2 separate regions of the Homo sapiens genome follow, and region 1 is linked to region 2. Evidence: promoter capture Hi-C in 16 types of primary human blood cells and fetal thymus (Javierre and others, 2016). All regions are on one chromosome and are shown on one strand. The core of a region is centred on a gene start or on the middle of the fragment in contact, and the rest is flanking DNA. Distances in the headings are between cores, read along the strand shown.

Region 1 (6,507 bases), core at 2,394-4,893, 41 kb after region 2:
TTTAGACCTAATAGCATAACCATGTAACATAAATTCCAAACCAGGATGCGTTGGTATGACATGGGTTGTGTTAAAAAGCCCCCCAATGGATGGATGTAAACCAGAACTGCCCCAGACAAATGTGTCTTAGCAGGAGCTGGGAGAGAGCCAGCCAAGCAAAGCTGATGCAGCCCCATTCAACTCAACACAGCTTTTCTGGGTGTGTTTTATTTTTATTTTTAATTTTTAATTTTTTAATTTAAAAAAATAGAAACGGAGTCTTGCCATGCTGCCCAGGCTGATCTCAAACTCCTGGACTCAAGCGATCCTCCCGCCTCGGCCTCCCAAAGTGCTGGGATTACAGGCATGAGCCACCGCACCCGTCTGAGTGTTTAACAAGCCTAAGCATGTGACAGTGGGACCTGGGGTAGGGAGGGTCAGGCTCTGAGCCCCCACAGGCACTGAGCCATCTCTACTCATATCCAGGAGACAGTATGGGGGTTCTGAGGGGAACAACTATGCCAGTTTTTGGGGAAACATGTTCATCATTTTCCTGAGCACTTCCCTCTACCTTTGCTACGGAAACCCCAGCTCACCCTCCGAGCCTGATTCAAGGCCCATCTGCTTGTCGGCTTTGGTCTCGGAGAGGTGCCACGGAGTCAGGCTAAAGAGCAGGGCAGGACAGGGGACCTGCTGGGGCTGACCGCTGAGCCACGGACAGCCCTGTGGGTGAGACCGGTGGACATTGTCCCCAAGCCCCATTCCAGCAGTGCACCCTCCCATGGTGTCATCCTTCTGGCCTCCTTTGGTAGACCAAGTCTCCTTTGCCCAGGTAGCCTGTCTGTGACAGCCACCTCCCTGCATTTCTAGGCCCCCATTGTCCAAGAGTGACCAGGGCACTTCCCTCTTGGTTTCCACCTCAACGAGGGCAACGTGTATCTCTGAGCCCCGGCTTTGTGCCAAGCACTGGAGTTACAACAGCAGGCAGATTCCATGGAGCTGATGTTCTGATGGGGAGCACCAGCACACAGCAAAAACGGTCCTACAAGAACAGATGGCAATAAGCCTGAGCCTAATGTCCTGGCCTGGGCAGGCCTCTCTAGGGAAGGGACATTTCCATTGTCTCACATTACATTGAGTAAGTGGGACTCAGCTGGGCGAGGAGGAGAGGGTGTGAACTTGGTGTGTTGGAAAACAGGAGAGATGGTCACGGGTCTAGGGCTTGGAGTGAGAGCTGGGCAGGGCTGGAATTTGTGGGGCCTTCTGGACGGTGATAAATTCAGACCCCATCCCAGGGCCATGAGCAGTCGCTAAGGGAATTTAAACAGGAGTGTGGGGACAGGATCAAATTTGCCACCCTCCCTCTCCAGGGAAAACACCTTGGGCTAAGAGGAAAGGCAAATGATGAAGCCTTGGACTCCAGGCCGGGGCCCTGAGAGGAGGGAGAGGGGTCGCCTCCATCTCCGAGCAGCGGGACTAAGAGCCCTTTGGCGCCTCACCCCAGGAAGTCGGCTCTGTAAGGACTTCCCCAGCTTCCTCTGAGGCCAGAGGAGGAGACAAAGAAAGAAAGTCTTGGGCTGGGCACAGTGGCTCACACCTGTAATCCCAGTACTTTGGGAGGCCAAGGCAGGCAGATCACTTGGGGTCAGGAGTTCGAGACCAGTCTGGCCAACATGGCGAAACCCCATCTCTACTAAAAAATCCAAAAAATTAGTGGGGTGTGGTGGCGCATGCCTATAATACCAACTACTCAGGAGGCTGAGGCAGAGAATCGCTTGAACCTGGGAGATGGGGGTTACAGTGAGCTGAGATCGTGCCACTGCACTCCAGCCTGGGAGACACAGCAAGACTCTGCCTAAAAAAAAAGAAAAAAAGAAAGTCTTGAGCTTCTCTGTCCCTGGGGGACAGCAGCCTAGGCCCATCTGGGCTGGGGATACCAGGCCCTTTCCTGGTTCATATTTCCCCCCATCCCGCCCTCAGCCTCCGGGAACACCAGCCTCCAAGCTGGCTGCTGCTTCTGCATCCCACCCCATGACGCACATCCAGAATGGAGCCAAAAGCATAAGAAGCCAAAAGGACAGTCAAAAAAGGAAGGCAGCCTGGAAGGGCAGCAGCACCGGGAACATGAGGCTCTGTCCGCTCGCCCTTGCGCTGGCTCAGTGCAGACGGGAAGCGGTTGGAGCCAGTTCCAGCATTCTGCAGGTGGGGCTGGCGGGGGGAGAGGTGCCCATGCCCACCGGCCATTGGGCGGTCCCATGCGCCCTGCAGGCTGACCTCATTGTCCAGAATTGTGAGCGTGCTTCCTGGGGTCACATTCCGTGCTGAAGAGCCCCTCTTCAAGGCCTCGGTTGGCGCCAATGTCTTTTTAGGAACCAAGCCTCTAATTTTAGTGTCCCAGCCTTGACACCTTCTCAAAATAGCTCCCTGTTTTCTCTTGTGTCCCTGGCCCTTCCTTGGAGAAGGTGAACCCCCTGCATCCCCGTGATCTGAGTTGGTGAGCACAGGTCCAAGGCCTTGTATGGGTTTGGGTGTAGGGATCCACGCCCCTGCCATGTGTTTTGTGTGGCAGGACCCAGAGAACTCACCTCTGGGAGGGCAGCTCACAGCACCCACCATGGCAGGGGTCCTGCGAGAGCCCACTCCCAACTCCTCCCTGGGGGTCTGCCATGCTCAGGCGTGGCACAAACGAAAGTGACTCAAATCCAGGTCCCCAACCCCTGGAAATCAAGGCTTCATAGCCGCAGCTCCACCTGTAGGAATCGTGGGTGAGCTGACACCTGCGCCCCGGGAGCTCCTCTCTTCCTTTGGCAGGTTCCATGCTGTTCAGGTACCAATCCTAACAATGGCCTTTCCTGAACATTTCAATGGTGCCAAGTGCATCTCTTGCATAATTTTGTTTAATCCTCTCAGCCATCCTATGCAGTAGGTGCTATAATTGTCCCCAAGGTCATGGAGCTGCCAAGCGATGGAACCGGAATTTGGTGGGTTTTTTGTTTTTGTTTGTTTGTTTTTTGAGATGGGGTCTTGCTCTGTCACCCAGGATGCAGTACAGTGGCACGATCTCTGCTCACTGCAACCTCCGCCTCCCGGGTTCAAGAGATTGATTCTCCTGCCTCAGCCTCCCAAGTAGCTGGGATTACAGGCATGCACCAACACACCTGGCTAATTTTTATATTTTCAGTAGAGATGGAGTTTCACCGCGTTGGCCAGGTTGGTCTCAAACTCCTGACCTCAGGTGATCCATCCGCCTCGGCCTACCAAAGTACTGGGATTACAGGTGTGAGCCACCGTGCCCAGCCTAGAACTGGAAGTCGAACACAGGAAATCGGGCTCCCAGCCCTCGGCCTCATGCTACTCATGGTGCTGCCACATAAACATTCTCCTTGCACCAGCCCTTTCTCCACTGCCTCTGTCACAGTCCCTTCCAGAGTGCTCTGCTCAGATTCTTCTAGGCATCCTAAGCGAGTAGAGCAGAGAGGTTGTGCCGCTTGCCTGAAGTCACACAGCAAACTAGGGGCAGATGAAGACACACAACTCCAGAGGGCTGAGATCCAGGAAGCATTCCTGGAAGGAGGCTAAAGCTTAGCCAAGAGGTGAGCAAAGACTGTGGTCCCAGGCAACAGCCAGGCAGTGTGTCGGGACCTGGCAGGGCTCATCTAGCAGTCTTTTCCCCAACAGATTCGTGTTCTCAGCGGCAGGAAAAGCCCTCTAAAGGTGCCACCAGCTGGCCGAGTGGCAGGTATCCAGGAAGCTTGATTCGACAGCTCCCAGGGACACTGGCCACTAGGACCCATATTTTTCTGGGAAAGAGACACACTGGAAAGGAGAAAAGCCAGGGTGGGTCCTTCCTGGGCCTCCTCCTGCTGCAGTCAGAGCCCAAACCCCACACCCAGGGGCTCCCTGGAGGGACTGTGAGTGGCCAGAGCTCCCTTCAGGGCCCGAGGTCTGGCTCCTCCCTCAGGTTCATGCCCTGCAACCTGAGGGCCTGTCCCATTGATCACGATGGGGTGGGGAGGGGGAAGACAGAGACCGGCTGGTGCAGGTGATGGTGGGGAGACCAGGGCACTGGGCCCCATGGGGCTGGCTCACTCCACTCAGCCAGGGAAGAACACATTAGGGGCTTGGGAAACTCCTTCAAATCCCTAAATTGTCTAGGCTCATCCAAGCAGTTTTCGACTATCAGGACAGGAAAATGCAGTTTTTGTCTAAGTGAGTCACAGCCACTCTTCTGAAAGTGCCAGGTGGGTGGGTACACATGCAGGGCCAGAGGGCGCACCAAGAAGAAGAGAGGGGTCAAGACTCAGCCAGAAGCAGGTGCCCAGCCTTGGAATGACCGGAGACAGTCATCATAACACTGGGCTTCCCACTTAAATTATGCCGAGGGCCGGGCACAGCGGTTCACACCTGTAATCCCAGCACTTTGGGAGGCTGAAGTGGGCAGATCACTTGAGGTCAGGAGTCCAAGACCAGCCTGGCCAACATGGTGAAACCCTATCTCTACTAAAAAAAAAAAAAACGAAAATTAGCCGGGTATGGTGGCACACGACTGTAATCCCAGCTACACGGAAGGCTGAGGCATGAGAATCGCTTGAACCCAGGGGACGGAGGTTGCAATGAGCCGAGATCATGTCATTGCACTCCAGCCTGGGTGACAGAGCTAGACTCTGTCTCAAAGAAAAATAAATAAATAAAGAAAGAAAGAAAGAAAGAAAGAAAGCTGGGGTTGCCAACCCAAACACCTACAGGGGCCGGGTGGTTGGTGTAATGAAATAATGAATGAAGCCAGCCAGGTGACAAATTGTGGGGAAAAGAAAGAGAGATCATATTGTTAGTGTGTCTATGCAGAGACAGGAAGACATAAGAAACTCCATTTTGATCTGTACTAAGAAAAATTGTTCTGCTTTGAGATGCTGTTAATCTGTAACTCTTGTCCCAACCCTATGCTCACAAAAACATGTGCTGTATGGACTCAAGGTTTAAGGGATTTAGGGCTGTGCAGGATGTGTTTTGTTAGAAATGTTTTTGTAGGCAGTATGCTTAGTAAAAGTCATCGCCATTCTCCATTCTCGATTAACCAGAGATACAATGCACTGCGGAAGGCCGCAGGGACCCCTGCCCAAGAAAGCCCAGGTATTGTCCAGGATTCCCCCCACTGAGACAGCCTGAGATGTGGCCTCGTGGGAAGGGAAAGACCTTACAGCCCCCCAGCCTGACACCCACATAGGGTCTGCCTGAGGAGGATTAGTGAAAGAGGAAGGCCTCTGTGTTGTTGGGATAAGAGGAAGGCATCTGTCTCCTGCACGTCCCTGGGAATGGAATGGCTCAGTGTAAAACCGACCATACATGGCCGGGTGCCGTGGCTCACGCCTGTCATCCCAGCACTTTGGGAGGCTGAGGCGGGCAGATCACGAGGTCAGGAGATCGAGACCATCCTGGCTAACACGGTGAAACCCCGTCTCACACACCGGGCGTAGTGGCGGGTGCCTGTAGTCCCAGTTACTCGGGAAGCTGAGGCAGGAAAATGGTGTGAACCCAGGAGGCGGGGCTTGCAGTGAGCTGAGATTGCTCCACTGCACTCCAGCCTGGGCAACAGAGCGAGACTCTGTCTCAAAAAAAAAAAAAAAAAAAAAAACCGACCATATATTCTATTCTGAGATAGGAGAAAACTGCCATATGGCTGGAGGCGAGACATGATGGCAGCAATACTGCTCTGTTACTCTTTACTGCACTGAGATGTTTATGTAAAGTTAAACATAAATCTAGCCTATGTGCACATCCAGGCACAGCACCTTTCCTTAGACTTATTTATGACACAGATTCCTTTGCACACACATTTTCCTACTGACCCTCTCCCCACCATCACCCTATAGTCACACCACATTCCCCCTGCCAAGATGGTAAAGATAGTGATCAATAAATACTGAGGGAACTCAGAGACCGGGGCCGGTGCAGGTCCTCACTTACTGAGCACCGGTCCCCTGGGCCCACTTTTCTTCCTCTATACTTTGTCTCTGTGTCTTATTTCTTTTCTCAGTCTCTCGCCTCCACCTTGCGAGAAATACCCACAGGTGTGGAGGGGCTGGCCCCCTTCAACAAATAACACCTGACCCTTGGCCTAGGTGTTGAGGACATACTGGGCATTTGGGAGGCTATGGGAACTGGAGAAGGGAGCAGCTCAGTGCGCTTGAGTACTGCCTTGTGGGAATGCACCTGTACTGTCAGAGACAGAGGGATATCTTTAAAATCTTAGGTAAGTATCTGTTTTTTTAATGTTGGCAAAAATTTTAGAATTTTTTTTACTGTTGAGAGTTTCAAATAAAATGTGTCTGCAACCTGTATTCAGCTGTGGAGAGAGATGGAGAGGTAGCATGTGCTGTGAGATGATGCTTTTCTTGTTTGCAAAACACAGCGTCTTGTATAATTGTCACTCTAACTCTGTGAGGCAGACTGGGCAGGTCGGCCGTGCCCATCTGATAGATTAGGAAAACTGAGACCCAGATGAGTGAAGCACTTTGCAGGTGTCACACA
Region 2 (6,223 bases), core at 530-3,029:
TATCTTCAGTACTGCAAAGAGAACACAGACATATCTGGCTTGGTGACCTGGCTGTCCTGGAAAAGTCAGCTTCATGTATGAGTGTGCCCATCCTCTGAACTTGATTACTGACCACCTGCTTCCCACCGGCCCCCACCCCAGCCTGATGACCCTCTGAGCTTCATGAATTGATAAGCAAGTTACTCATCAGAGTAAATTTCACTTAAGCCCTTCAGGATCTTGCAATTCTGGGGAGGAATATGAACTGCTAATCAGCCATGCAAAGATAACTTGGCTCTATGAATATTTTAATTTCCCAGTGCTAGTGGCAGTTGCTTTTTTTTTTTTTTTTTTTGAGACGGAGTCTTGCTCTGTCGCCCAGGCTGGAGTGCAGTGGTGCCATCTCTGCTCACTGCAAGCTCCGCCTCCCGGGTTCACGCCATTCTCCTGCCTCAGCCTCCGGAGTAGCTAGGACTTACAGGCGCCTGCCACCACGCCTGGCTAATTTTTTGTATTTTTAGTAGAGACGGGGTTTCACCGTGTTAGCCAGGATGGTCTCCATCTCCTGACCTCGTGATCCACCCGCCTTGGCCTCCCAAAGCGCTGGGATTACAGGCGTGAGCCACCGTGCCTGGCCTTTTTTTTTTTTTTTTGAGACAGTCTCGCTCTATCACCTAGGCTGGACTGCAGTGGCGTGATCTCTGCTCACTGCAACCTCTGCCTCCTGGGTTCAAGTGATTCTCCTGCCTCAGCCTCCCAAGTAGCTGAGAGTACAGGTGCCCGCCACCACACCCAGCTAATTTTTGTATTTTTAGTAGAGCTGGGGTTTCACCATGTTGGCCAGGATAGTCTTGATCTCTTGACCTCATGATCCGCCTGCCTCGGCCTCCCAAAGTGCTGGGATTACAGGCGTGAGCCACTGTGCCCAGCCCCCCCCCCTTTTTTTTTTAAGCATTTTCTCAGCAGACTAGCTAAGGACAATAGATGGCATGTCCTGACACCCATGGGGCACTCTGGGTGTTGGGGCAGAAACTTGAGAGGGAATGAGCTTCTGCATTGGTCCCTTTCCTGCTGAAGGTGTCTCCCAGTAGTGTCCATCCCATCCCATTTCCATCCCCAGTTCCTCTTACCCGGAAGCTGTTACAGCCCAGTCCGCTCTGGGCTCCAATCCTGTCCATCCTGCCCCCGAAGCAGCTGGATCTCCGCAGGCTCCGAGGGGCAGTGAGCAGCGCCCTCAGCTTGCTTTTTAGGAGGGCAGATCGATCAGAGGAGTCCCAGGGGCCCCGCCCGAGGGCACCTCCATCTCTCTGGGCTGGGCTGACTTCCCCGGTCCAGGGAGGCACCTCAGGGAGGGGGCTGAGAGCAGCCCCCGCTTCTTCATTCGGCTCACTGAGCACTTGTGGGGGCACGACCTCATCTTCTAAAGGCATCTTTTCTTCCAAATGGTCCAGCAAATTCTTTAGAAAAGGAAAATACAGGGAAAGGGATAAACCTCACTGACTTGGAGGAAATCAAGAGGAGTGAGCACAGCATCAGAAAGCCCCCTGGCCCCAGACTGCACCCGCTTTCCTGGCCCTACCTTGAAATCCATCAGGTCTGCGTTGGACACGGCATTGTACATGGGATTAGCTCTGGTCTGACCTAGGAGCTGGAATGCCAGTAAAAGGAGGAAGCTCACGGTGGTGGTGGAGAAGGAGCTCATGCTGGCGTCGTCAAGGAGCAATCCACTGCTTGCTGCTCTGTCTCTCCCCTCTGGTTCCTCTCTGGTTCCCCTCTCTTGGCCTACGTCTGTCCCTGTCTCCCAGCTGCCCAGTGCCGCCTCTTTTTATAGCCCCCCAGCTCTCCAAGCACGCAGGAGAGACAGAACCCTCCCCATTCTGTCACTTGCAGTGATAAAGCTGCCAAGTGAGAAGCCAGCAGGAGATGCCCTTTTAAAGTTATCATCCCGCAGGGCTTGTCACAGCCCCTCTCTGCCTTGGGCAGCCCCAACAGCCCCCCAGACCCTCAGCTGCAAGAGCCGCATTCTTACTGATTTGACTCAAGAGGCTCCCACTTCAAAGGTGTGAGAAGAGTAAAAAAGAGTCCTTGGTTATCTCACCGCCGTGCCTCAGGATTCTTTCTCCTCGACGCTGGTACCCGTGCGGGGAAACAGAGGGTGACGCTTGGCTGGTGCCCAGCTCCCCTGGTTTGTTTGTGGCTCAGCTGTCAGGGCCTCCAAATAAGGGTGGAGAGGAGGAAATGGCAGGCAGCCAGCAGCCCGAGACAAATGGATCCAGATGCTCAAGCTGGCCTCACACCTGCCTCATCCGCCACGTGGGCAGACCTCTGGCCTCAGACAGGGCTGCCTTCACCCCTGGCAGTCCCTCTCCATGGTCAGGCGAAAGGAAGTTATTTTTTAGTATATAAAGTCAGCTGAGAACCAAATGTGATGAAGCTCCCAGGAATCCAACCCCCAAATAGAAATAGCAAGAAAAGGCGGGGGAGCACAAGCATCCTCTCTCCAAAGCTCCTCCTCTTCCATGTCCCCCGCGACCCTCCTCCAGCATGCTGCGGGGACAGGCTTAGAGGACGCAGCCAATTTCATTTCTTCCGTTGCTGTTTATAGATGCTCAGACTCTTCGTGTCTGAAGTTTGTTAACATCCCCCTGCCCTTCCTGGGCTTGTGCCCGTGGCAACTTGACCGATGGAGGAAGGGAGGTGGGGGTGAAGGAGGTATAGTCAGTTTCCCTCAATGCCTTCTACATCCTTCCCTGAGGACGTGGCAAGTGGCAAGTGACCGAGCCACCAAGGTCACAATTTCCCTGGCCCCCAAAAGGGAAATAACAGGCAGCAAGTCTGTCTATGTTTAATGAATGGCCTGTTTGCTAAGCACTGAACTCAGTGTTAGCCATTACCATTCAATGCAACGTATACTGGGGGAAAACTCTAAATTTGAAGGGCTGAGAGACCAGTACTGTAGCCCAAAACAAACCAGTTGCATACCTCTTCGCAGCCTTACTTTCCTTGTGTGTAAAATGAGAAAGAATGTTAAAAACCGGCCGGGTGCAGTGGCTCACACGTATAATCCCAGCACTTTGGGAGGCTAAGGTGGGTGGATCACCTGAGGCCAGGAGTTTGAGACCAGCCCTACCAACATGGCAAAACTCTGTCTCTACTAAAAATATAAAAATTAGCTGGGTGTGGTGGCATGTGCCTGTAATCCCCGCTACTAGGGAGGCTGAGGTAAAAGAATTGCTTGACCTTGGGAGGCGGAGGTTGTAGTGAACCAAGATCGCACCACTGCACTCTAGCCTGGGCAACAGAGTGGGACTCGGTCTCAAAAAATAAATAAATAAATGAATGAATAAAGTAGAAATCTTCCCTGCCTACCTTGCAGGATTGTTGTGGAGCCCAAGTGAGCTGAGAACGTGTCAACACATAACAAGTGTGCAGTGCTGAGTCCCTGCAAGATGGCCATCATAGTTGTCTTTATTGGTTGCTTGTAGCATGCCTAGCACTGTGCTGAGAACTTTATGGAAATGATTTTATTTTGATCACCATCCCCAGGTGGTAGATAGCATTGTCCTTGCTTACAAGGGAACAGAACTGAGCCCGAGAGGCTATGCCACTTGCCCAAGGCCACTAGGTGCCTAAGTGGCGGAACCAGGACTGGATCCCCAGGTCTGACGCTGATGTCTGTATCCTAGCCTATTTCACGTAGAGAGCTGCCACCTTACCTCTTAGCTGCATTCCCCAATTAAACCCCCATTCCCCATCTTTCAGATGCCCCAAGGGAGCTCCTTCACCTTCCCCATGCCCCTGGGGCTGTAGCTTTTTTGTGCACTTACCAAGTCTGTGTGTGTTGGCTGCTCTCCTGATCTATTTCTACACCGAATGTGTTTTAATCCACTCCTTAGAAGCTCAGAAAATGTGTGTTGAGTGACCAGCTCTGTCCTGGCTGGCCAGATCTGTCCCCAGGTGTGCTGACCTCATGACTGACCAGGTGAACAGGACGTTGTGCAGCCATAAGGTTGGAAATCAGGGCAGCAAGTGACTAGAGGTCACAAGAGGTATCCAGGGTGATATTATTCTAAGATAAGATAAAAGGGACCCTCTTTGGCAAGCCTTGGGGTTTGTCTGTAGGTGGGGATCTAATATTTCATGGGGTGGTTAGAAGCAGCCTGTAGGAGTGAGAGAGAAGAAAAGTAACAGGCACAGAAAGCCAGGCCCACCTCCATCCCCACCTCTTCCACGGCTGAAAAATCAAAAGCCTTTTATTTCCTTATCACTGGAAAGAAGTCATCTTAGTCATACAACGGGTGGAGCACTGCAAACGGGTGGGAGAATCCAGAATCCGGGTGTTGCCAGATTCCAGCCCAGAGTTTGGCTTCACGATTCTCTGGGGGTATGCCTTGGGCTGCTGCAGGGAGCCCCAGAGTGTGCAGTGTCACCCGCGTGCAGAGCTGGCACGAAATCCCCAACACATTCGTGGCATGATTCTGCGGGACCCAGATGGTCTAAAGCAGAAGCCCCAGTTGGGAAAAATTGGTTCATACTTAGGGATGATCGTTGCTGACTTTGAAAATGATGTTTTGTTTCTTTGGTTTAATATGGAGGTCACTAAGGGCTGAAGACTGGGGACAGTTTCCCTAGAAAACAAAGCCCAAGGCAAAAGGTCACTCGCTAAAGTTTTGTGGGGGTTCCTATTCAAAGGAAGCAAGAGTGAGGCGGAGTGAGAGGCTGTTTTAGTTAACTACTGCCGGGTAACAAGTCACCCCAGACTGGGCGTGGTGACTCACGCCTGTCATTCCAACACTTTGGGAGGATCATTTGAACCCAGGAGTTCAAGACCACCCTGGGCAACATGGCAAAAACCCATTTGTACTAAAAATACAAAAAATTAGCTGGGTGCAGTGGTGCGTGCCTGTCATCCCAGCTACCCTGGACACTGAGGTGGGAGAATCACCACAGCCCAAGAAGTTGAGGCTGCCGTGAGCCATGACCAAGCCACTGCACTCCAGCCTGGGTGACAGAGTGAGAACCTGTCTCAAAAAGAACAAAAGCCAGGCATGGTGGCTCACGCCTGTAATACTAGCCCTTTGGGAGGCTGAGGCAGGAAGATCTCTTGAGCTCAGGAGTTCCAGACAAGACTGAGCAACATAAGGAACCCTGTTTTTAATAAATAAACAAACAAAAAACAAAACAAAAACCAAGTCACCCCAAACCTTAGCAACTTCACACAATGCACATCTATTATCTCATCACCTCTGTGCTCTGTGGATCAGGGATCTGGCCCTGCTTGGCCTGGGGCCCCTGGGCAATGAAGGCGTTGGCTGCGGCTGCAGTCATCTCAAGGCTTGGCTGGGGGAGGATAGGCTTTCAGGCTCACTCCTGCAGCTGTTGGCAGAAGCCACAGGTTCTCGCTGGCTGGTGGCTGGTGGAAACATCAGTTTCTTGCCACGTGGGTCTCTCCATGGAGACGCAACTGTCTTCTATTAGGTCAGGCGAGAAAGAGAAGTTACGGAAGAAGCCACAGTCTCTTTGTTACCTAATCTCAGAAGTGACATCCCATTCTTCATGTTGTACTGTTCTGTGTCCCTTAGAAGTGAGTCTCTGGGTCTCACTCACACTCTAAGGGAGGGGGTTACAGAGGGTATGAAGACCAGGAGGTTGGGGATCTCTGGGGGCCTTCTGAAAGCACTGCCCACACAAATAGAGAAGGAAGGAAAGCAAATGTAAGGTGACATTGGCTGAGTGCAGTGGCTCATGCCTGTAATCCCAGCACTTTGGGAGGCTGAGGTGGGTGGATCACTTGAGGTCAGGAGCTCGAGACCAGCCTGACCAACATGGTGAAACCCCGTCTCTACTAAAAATACAAAAATTAGCCAGGCATGGTGGTGTGCACCTGTAGTCCCAGCTACTCGGGAGGCTGAGGCAGGAGAATCATGAAGGGCAGGGCTCTGCAGGAAGGTTGACTTATTTGGGAGTGTCTTAGTTTAAGTTCTCTTGAACCGGAGACAGATATTCCAGTATTAGTGGCTGATCTTGGAGACAAACCCAGGAAATGTCAGTGGAGAGTGGGGAAGTGATACAGAAAAAGTAGAAGTCAGTGACCACCTCTGGCAGTAGGTGCTTAATCCTCCTCCCACAGAGAACTCCAAACAGGTTCTCTGTTTGGAGAACAGAGACACATGCCACCTATGACTCAAGGGAGCTGGGTGTTTGTTTTATTTTATTTTATTTTATTTTATTTTTGAAACAGAGT

What was found. The method cuts DNA at HindIII sites, captures the fragments that hold promoters and counts their contacts. A CHiCAGO score of 5 or more calls a contact.
Region 1: a contact is called between a fragment that was not itself captured here and the fragment with the promoter of NPPA in region 2, in 3 of 17 cell types (erythroblasts, M0 macrophages and megakaryocytes). The highest score is 9.4, in erythroblasts.

Annotation. Positions count from the first base shown.
Region 1 is chr1:11,885,088-11,891,594 of GRCh38, forward strand. No RefSeq gene overlaps it. Among named protein-coding and RNA genes, the nearest start is that of RNU5E-1, 20 kb to the right of the region's middle. RefSeq lists an enhancer at 384-4,346. The HindIII fragment of the contact is 170 bases long and covers 3,559-3,728 here.
Region 2 is chr1:11,846,004-11,852,226 of GRCh38, forward strand. It overlaps NPPA (natriuretic peptide A), which reads right to left and starts at 1,780. Exons shown (of 3, transcript NM_006172.4): 1 at 1,559-1,780; 2 at 1,110-1,436; 3 at 1-11. The coding sequence starts at 1,681. The coding sequence ends at 6. It also overlaps NPPA-AS1. RefSeq lists an enhancer at 816-2,606. The HindIII fragment of the contact is 12,440 bases long and covers 1-6,223 here.